Linked DNA regions of Homo sapiens: region 1 is linked to region 2. The links are contacts of gene promoters, found by promoter capture Hi-C in blood cells and fetal thymus (Javierre and others, 2016). All regions are on one chromosome and are shown on one strand. Each heading gives the region's core, a stretch centred on a gene start or on the middle of the fragment in contact. The rest is flanking DNA. Distances are from core to core; before and after follow the strand shown.

What was found. Contacts are between HindIII fragments. The CHiCAGO score rates a contact against its expected background, and 5 or more counts as called.
Region 1: a fragment that was not itself captured here is called in contact with the fragment with the promoter of SLFN13 in region 2 in 6 of 17 cell types (non-activated CD4 T cells, naive CD4 T cells, total CD8 T cells and 3 more); the score reaches 8.5 in non-activated CD4 T cells.

Annotation. Positions count from the first base shown.
Region 1 is chr17:35,317,435-35,322,871 of GRCh38, forward strand. No RefSeq gene overlaps it. Among named protein-coding and RNA genes, the nearest start is that of SLFN11, 53 kb to the right of the region's middle. The HindIII fragment of the contact is 2,718 bases long and covers 1,592-4,309 here.
Region 2 is chr17:35,447,516-35,450,313 of GRCh38, forward strand. It overlaps SLFN13 (schlafen family member 13), which reads right to left and starts at 1,251. Exons shown (of 6, transcript NM_144682.6): 1 at 1,207-1,251. RefSeq lists enhancers at 527-686, 1,565-2,066, 1,957-2,166, 2,067-2,566 and a silencer at 1,257-1,336. The HindIII fragment of the contact is 16,320 bases long and covers 1-2,798 here.

The sequences.
Region 1 (5,437 bases), core at 1,701-4,200, 130 kb before region 2:
TATTTCTTTTGCTGTGCAGAAGCCTTTTACTTTAAGTCCCAACTATTTTTTATTTTGTTGCATTTGCTTTTGGGTTCTTGGTCATAAATTATTTGCCTAAGCCAATGTATAGAAGAGTTTTTCTGATATTATCTTCTAGAATTTTTATGGTTTCAGGTCCTAGATTTAGGTCTTTGATCCATCTTTAGTTGATTTTTATATAAGGTGAGAGATGAGGATCCAGTTTCCTTCTTCTACATGTGGCTTGCCAATTATCGCGGCACCATCTCTTGAATAGGGTGTCCTTTCCCTACTTCGTGTTTTGTTTGCTTTGTCAAAGCTGGGTTGGCTGTAAGTATCTGGGTTCTCTATTCTGTTCCATTGGTCTATGTTCCTATTTTTATACCAGTATAGTTTGAAGTCGGGTAATGTGTTGCCTCCAGATTTGTTCTTCTTGCTTAGTCTTGCTTTGGCTATGCGTGCTCTTTTTTGATTTCATATGAATTTTAGGATTGTTTTTTCTAGTTCTGTGAAGGACAATGATGGTATTTTGATGAGAATTGCATTGAATCTGTAGATTGCTTTAGGCAACATAATCATTTTCATAATATTGAATGATACCCATCCATGAGCATGGAATGTGTTTCCGTTTGTTTGCATCATCGATGATTACTTTCAGCAGTGTTTTATAGTTTTCCTTGTAGAGATCTTTCACCTCTTTGGTTAGGTATATTCCTAAGTACTTAACTTTTTTTTTTTTTTTGCAACTGTTTTAAAGGGGGTTGAGTTCTTGATTTGATTCTCAGCTTGGTGTGCAGCAGTGCTACAGATTTACATACATTGACTTTGTATCCTGAAACTTTACTGAATTCATTTATAAGATCTAGGAGCTTCTAAATGAGTCTTTAGGGTTTTCTAGGTATACAATCATATCATCAGTAAACAGTGACAGTTTGATTTCCTCTTTACAGATTTGGATGCCCTTTATTTCTTTCTCTTGTTTTTCTGTTTCCCCTTATTTGTCCTCTTGTCATAGATTTTGAGTACTATGTTGAATAGAAATGGAGACAATAGGCATCATTGTTTTGTTCCAGTTCTCAGGAGGAATGCTTTCAACTTCATCCAAGCCTTCCATAAAATCCTTGTATAAGCACTGGTAATAGGATAGGGAAGTTTCAGTCCTGCTAACTCCTGTTCCTACTCCTACTCTACCTCATATTGGGTTGGCAGTCTTTACAAGCACGTCAGCCTTTGAATTGGTGCCCTGGAAGTTTTCTCTCTAATCCAATGGCACGATCTCCAAAGTTATCAGAAACTTGCATTTAAGAGTTCTTTTCATGAACCCCTCCAAAGAAGTAATTCTTGAACTGTAGCTGATTATAACTCACTTTTTTTTTTGAGAAGGATCAAAGCCAAACATCAATTGTGGATGACAAAAGTCTTAAGACAGACATAAAGACACAGTTGACCAGGAAATTAGGTTATTTATTATTTTAACATAATAATCATACATTACTGACAACATATATTAAGACACATTAGAATTTTAGGAATTTCATATAATCCTGGAACACATATTAACGACACATTTATATAAATATAACCCAAAGGAAGCTTAACACCACCTCAGATTTGACAATGCTTCCGGTATAATTCTTTTTTTTTTTTTTTTTTTTTTGAGACAGAGTTTCACTCTTGTTGCCCAGGCTGGAGTGCAATGGCACGTTCTCAGCTCACTGCAACCTCTGCCTCCTGAGTTCAAACAATCCTCCTGTCTCAGCCTCCTGAGTAGCTGGGATTACAGGCATGTGCCACCACACTGGCTAATCTTGTATTTTTACTAGAGATGGGGTTTCTCCATATTTGTCAGGCTGGTCTCGAACTCCCAACCTCAGGTGATCTGCCCGCCTTGGCCTCCCAAAGTGCTCGGATTACTGGTGTGAGCCACTGTGCCCAGCCACTTCCTGTATAATTCTAACATTACAAATAAGCCTAATAAGCCCAGCATGTCTCTCTTGAAGTTCAGGGAATCCATTTCCCAATAAGTTCCTTATTTCCATTTGAGAACTCCTCAGCCTGGAGTTCATTGTCCATATCACTATCTGCATTTCAGTCAAAACCATTTAACCAATATCTAAGAGCCTCCAAATTTTCCCTCATCTTCTTGTCTTCTTCTGAACCCTCAAAGCTCTTCCAATACCTGCCTGTTACCCAGTTCCAAACCTGCTTCCACACAAAAACTCACTATCACAAGGACAGTACCAACAGGGATGGTGCTGTCATTCATGAGAAATCTGCTCCCATGATCCAATCACCAGCAACCAGGCCCTACCTCCAACATTGGGGATTACATTTCATGAGATTTGGGTAGGGACATATGTCCAAACTATATTAACCACATATATCTGTTTCTCCAGGATTGGTCCCTGGTGACTTATTTAGTTGTTTGGTGTGGTCATGTTTTCCTGGATGATCTTGATGCTTGTGGATGTTCATCAGTGTCTGGGAATTGAAGAGAGGTATTTATTGTAGTCTTCATAGTTTGGGCTTATTTGTTCCCATTCTTGTTAAGCATTTCCAGGTATTCAAAGGGACTTGGGCCCCAAGCCCAACAATGCTGTGGCTTTTGTAGACTTGTAGAGGTACCACCTTGGTGGTCTTGGATAAGGTCTGGAAAAAGTCTGTAGATTACCAAGCAGAGACTCTTGTCCTTTTCCCTTACTTTCTCTTAAATAAATGGAGTCTTTCTGTCTGTGGTGAGCCACCTGGAACTGGGGGTGTGGTGATACAAGCACCCCTGAGGCCACCACCACTGAGACTGTGCTGGATCATACCTGCAGCCAGCATAGCACTGGGTCTTGCCCAATGCCCACAATAACTACAATCTGGCTACCATCTATGATCACTCAAGGCTCTAAGACTATACAATCAGCGGGTGGCAATGGCAGCCAGGTTTGTATCCTTTCCTTCAGGGCAGCAAGTTTCCCCAGGCAGGTCCAGAGATGCTGTCTGTGAGTCAGGAATTGGAGGCAAAAACCAATAAATAATAAACATCAGAGAAGAAATAAATAAAATTGAGACTTTAAAAAAAAAGAAATAAAAAAGATAACAAAAGGAACAGTTGGTTTATTTATTTATTTATTTATTTATTCATTTATTTTTGAGATGGAGTCTCGCTCTGTCACCCAGGCTGGAGTGCAGTGGCGCGATCTCGGCTCACTGCAAGCTCTACCTCCTGGGTTCACACCATTCTCCTGCCTCAGCCTCCTGAGAAGCTGGGACTACAGGCACCCGCCACCACGCCTTGCTAATTTTTTGTATTTTTAGTAGAGATGGCGTTTTACTGTGTTAGCCAGGATGGTCTCGATCTCCTGACCTTGTGATCCACCCACCTCGGCCTTCCAAAGTGCTGGGATTAGAGGCGTGAGCCACCGTGCCAGGCCTGTTTTTTTTTTTTTTTTTTGAAAAGATACATAAAGCCAGGCACAGTGGCTCATGCCCAGCACTTTGGGAGGCCAAGATGGGAGGATTGCTTGAGCCCAGGAATTCAACATATGCAAATCAATAAACATGATACATCATGTCAACAGGATCAAAGACAAAAACCATGTGATCATTTCAAGAGATGCTGAAAAGGCATTCAATAAAATTCAACATTCCTTCATGATAAAAACTCTCAACAAATTGGGATAGAAGAAACATACCTAGACATAATAAAGGCTATATGTGACAAACCTACAGTTAATATGATAATATTACATTTCCAGCAGGAGTGTAAAAGTATTTCCTTTTCACCACATGCATGCCAACATCTGTTAATTTTTTATTTTTAATTATGGCCATTCTTGCAGGTGTAAGGTCATCTTGTTGTGGTCTTAATTTGCATTTCCCTGTCCATTAGTGATGTTGAGCATATTTTCATATGTTTGTTGGCCATTCGTATATCCTCTTTTGAGAATTGTCTATTCATATCCTTTGTCCACTTTTTGATGGGATTCTTTGTTTTTTTCTTGCTGATTTGTTTGAGTTCCTTGTAGATTCAGGATATTAGTCTTGTCAGATGCATAGTTTGAAAATATTTTCTCCCACTCTGTGGGTTGTCTGTTTACTCTGCTGATTATTTCTTTTGCTGTGCAGGAGGTTTTAGTTTAATTAGGTCTGATCTATTTATTTTTGTTTTTGTTGCATTTGCTTTTGTGTTCTTGGTTATAAACTCTTTGCCTAAGCCAATGTCCAGAAGTGTTTTTCTGGTGTTATCATCTAGAATTTTAATGGTTTCAGGTCTTAGATTTAAGTCTTTAATTCATTTCCTTTTCCCTAGAGACAATCAAGCTTTCGATGATCATGTGATGAGGTTTCCAGTCAGTTCCAGGTGAAGACACCACTGGCCATCAAGAAGCTACCCTCTCCCCACCAGACAGAGCAGGATGAGAGTTCTATAATCCTCAATAGGTAGGGACGGTGCTCCAAGTCAGCATGAAGCAGTTACAGAAGAAAGACCCTCAGTCCCCCTGCCTCCCATAAAGATTTATGGGGATCACATCTCTCAGAGGGGAAATGCACAGGAGAACTGGGCCTGGAGGCAGAGAACCTAACCCCACCTCTCCACACCCAAGTAGTAAAGGGATCAGAGGCTACTTTCTTTGTAACTCTCCCCATCTTTTCTGCATTGCAGATGAAAAATGAAAGTACCTCTGATTGGCCAAGTCTTCATGTATAACTTTGTAACTTTACTTCAGACTCTGATTGGTCACCTTCCACAACCATTCAGACTGGTTATGGGCCATTATTTCATTTACATAGGGTGTAAAGCAAATAACCAATGGGAAACCTCTTGAGGGTATTTAAACTCCAGAAAATTCTGTAACCCCTGCTCTTGAGCCACTTGCTTCAGCCCACTCCCATTCTGTGGAGTGTAGTTTCATTTAAATAAATCTGTGCTTTTCTTTCATTGCTTTGTGCATTTTGTCCAATTATTTGTTCAAAACACCAAGAACCTGGACACCCTCCACTGGTAACATCATCAGTAATAATTATGATTATTATTTTAAATTGCATGCCACAGAAATAACCAAATTTCCTTGTCAACTGTGTCTTTGACTACGGCTATCCTAAGACTTTTTTCATCCACAAATGTTGTCTTGCTGTGATCCTTCCAAAAAACGTTACTAATAATCAGCTACAGTCCAAGTCTTGTTTCTTTGGAGGAGTTCATTAAAAGGACTCTTGAATGCAGGTTTCTGATAACTTTGCAGATTGTACCATTAGATCAGAGAGAAAACTTTCACTGCACTTATTGAAAGGCTGATATGTTCATAAAGATTGCTAATGCAATATGAAGCAGAGTGAGAGTTGATTGCATTGACAGAACTAATGGAGGACTGAAATAATTTTTATGGCTTTTTTTGTTTGAAATATTGCTGATTCTTTTTGTTTTGTTTTTTGGAGTCTGAAGAAT
Region 2 (2,798 bases), core at 1-2,500:
TTCTTGCCCTTGCTTCTCTGTGGAAATTGATGGAAACAGTTTCGCCTCCTACACAGGTATACTGTAGGTAAAATCAGAACAACACAAATCCTCCCATCCACTCCCAAGCCCCCCACCCCACTGAGGAAAACTGGTGGGGACTGGCTAGTCTCAGGCAGAAACAGAAGGAAACAGCTGCGACAGAGGCTCCCTCTTGGGAAAATAAAACACAGAGCTCTTTGTCCTTCTCAGATAGCAGCTCTGTATTTTACAGACGTTGGGAGGGAGACATTTTTCTCATTTCTCCCCTTTCTAGATTGCAGGGTAATCAGGATAATGGGTACAGGGTAATGGCAATTCTAATTCTGTTTTGTTGTTTTGTTTTGTTTTGTTTTGTTTTTGTTTTGATACAATGTCTTCCTGTGTTGTCCAGGCTGGAGGGCAGTGGCGCCATCACAGGCTCAGGCGATTTTTGCCTCAGCCTCCGGAGAAGCTGGAACCACAGGTGCGCGCCACCAGGCCCGGTTAATTTATTAATATTAGTATTATATTATTATTATTATTATTATTCATAGCGATAGGGTCTCCCTACATTGCCCAGGCTGGTCTCGAAATCCTGGGCTCAAGTAATCCTCCCACTTGGCCTTTCAAAGTGCTGAAGCTACAGGCATGAGCCACCACACCCGGCCTAATTCTGCTTTTTAACTCTTAGATTAAGAACAATAATTTACAGTGGTTAGTGAGTCAATGCCAAGAACCCTGAAACAAGAGTCCCAACCTTCGCAACGGGGGAAGCCTCCAGGACGCACTTGGCTCTGCCTGTTTGTTCCGCCCCCGCGGAAACCGCTGCTCGCTGGGCAGGGGCTTTCTGTTTTGCAGCCGGAACAGGAACACAGATAGCCCGCCAAGCCGCCGGCGACACCTTCCAACCCCTTTAGCTCTCCGCACCGTCCCTCCCCACCGCCCCGCCTCCACCCGCGCCGCGATCAAGTCCTCATAGCCTTTTAGGGAATTTGCTCAGCAAACTAGCCGAACCCCAAAGGCAGGGGAGAAGCACGCAAATACCCCGACTCCACCGGCTGGCCGGAGCTGGGGGGCGGGGGTTGCTCTCCTAGCTTGCTCCCCATCCGAGTCAACGCCAGTCCAGGGTCGTGCCGGACTAGACCCTAGGGCGTGGGTACAAACGGGAGCTCCGCAGTCCCCGTAGGAGCAGGGACCCTCTCTTACCTCTCAAGCTCCAGCGCGTCAAGCTCCAGGACACTCCGCGTTTCCCTGGAGGCGCCAAGGTCAGGTTCTTATAACCAATGGTTGGCGCCTACCTGGGCAGGTCCCACACAGGGGATGAACGAACCAATGGGTCCCAGGCAGGGCATGGACGCGCCAATGGGAGTGTCTACAAAGCCCGGGAACACTTTGCCACGCTGTCTAGAAGGCCTGGCGGGAGGCTCGCGCCTATGAAATCCCAGCACTTTGGGAGGCCTAAGCGGGTTCATCGCTTGAGCCAAGAAGTTCGAGACCAGCCTGGACAGCACAGTGGGACCCCCGTCTGTACAACAACAACAACAACAACAACAACAACAAAATTACTCAGGCTTAGTGGCGCGCGCCTGTAGACTCAAATGTAGTCTCAGATGCCCGGGAGGCTGAGGCTGGAGGATCACTTGAGCCCGAGGAAGTCCAGGGTAAAGTGAGTCGAGATCGCACCACTGCACTCCAGCTTGGGCGACAGAGTGAGAGCCTGTTCCCCCTACAAAAAAAAAAAAAAATGTCTGGAAACGCCAAGTTTTCTGATTGCTTTCGAGTGGTTCTTAGTTCTTTCTTACTCCCCCTCCGCCCCTCCTCCGTCCCTATCTCTCTCTCCTTTCCCGGAGCCTGCGGTCCCGCCTTCCCCGGACCCCTCCTCTGAGGGTCCAGCCAAGCTCTCGCCCGAGCTTTCCCCTTCCACCGCACTGCAACTGCCCATACCCCAGCTTGGGCTTCTCTCCCCACTGCCTGCCCCAGAAAGTGGGCCTTGAGACCCGGGAACCCCAGGTCAAAATGCGACGGATGCTCGGATCGGGCGGCACTCGGTTCCTGGCTGGATTTGTGGCTCCGCAGACCCCGCGCCAGAGTGGGATGTGGCGGCGGCCGGTGCTCTGTGCTCAGTCAACGCCTTGGAGAGGAGGACTACGAAACCCATACACTCGGACAGAACCCTGGCAGGTGTTAAAGGCTGCGGCAGAGCAGAAAAGCAGAACCCTGGCTGGTTTTCTTGTAACACGAGCAGTGTGACGGTTACCGGGGTTGACCAAGCACCGCGCATCGGCCAAGTTCTCACTGACGCGGACTGGCCCAAGGGTGGGAGCGGCGGTTAACACCGGGGTGATTAATATACGCTCCAGTGGAGGCTAAAGTGAGAAAATAAAACGTACTCCAATACCACCCCCCCTTCGCCCCAGAGATTACCACTGACCACTATTAACACCCTATTGTACATATCTTTACGGATCATACATATATATTACACAAACATATATGTAATACTTTTTTATTAATACAAAGTCACACTGTATGTACTCTTCTTAATCTGCTTTTTTCAATGACTTCCACCTTTCCATTTCAGTAAATCTTCATATAATCATATTCCAGTTTTTTCATTTTTCTTTAAAATGCGGTTTATAGATTGTGCAAACCTGTACTGAATCCAGAACTATACATCTGTAAAGCGCTGGAAAAAAAAAAAAGGCTGTCAATCTAGAATTCTATAACCACCAAAAACAAAACAAAACAAGTCCTCCAAAATGGAGGCAAAATAACGACGTATTCAGACCAAAAAAAAA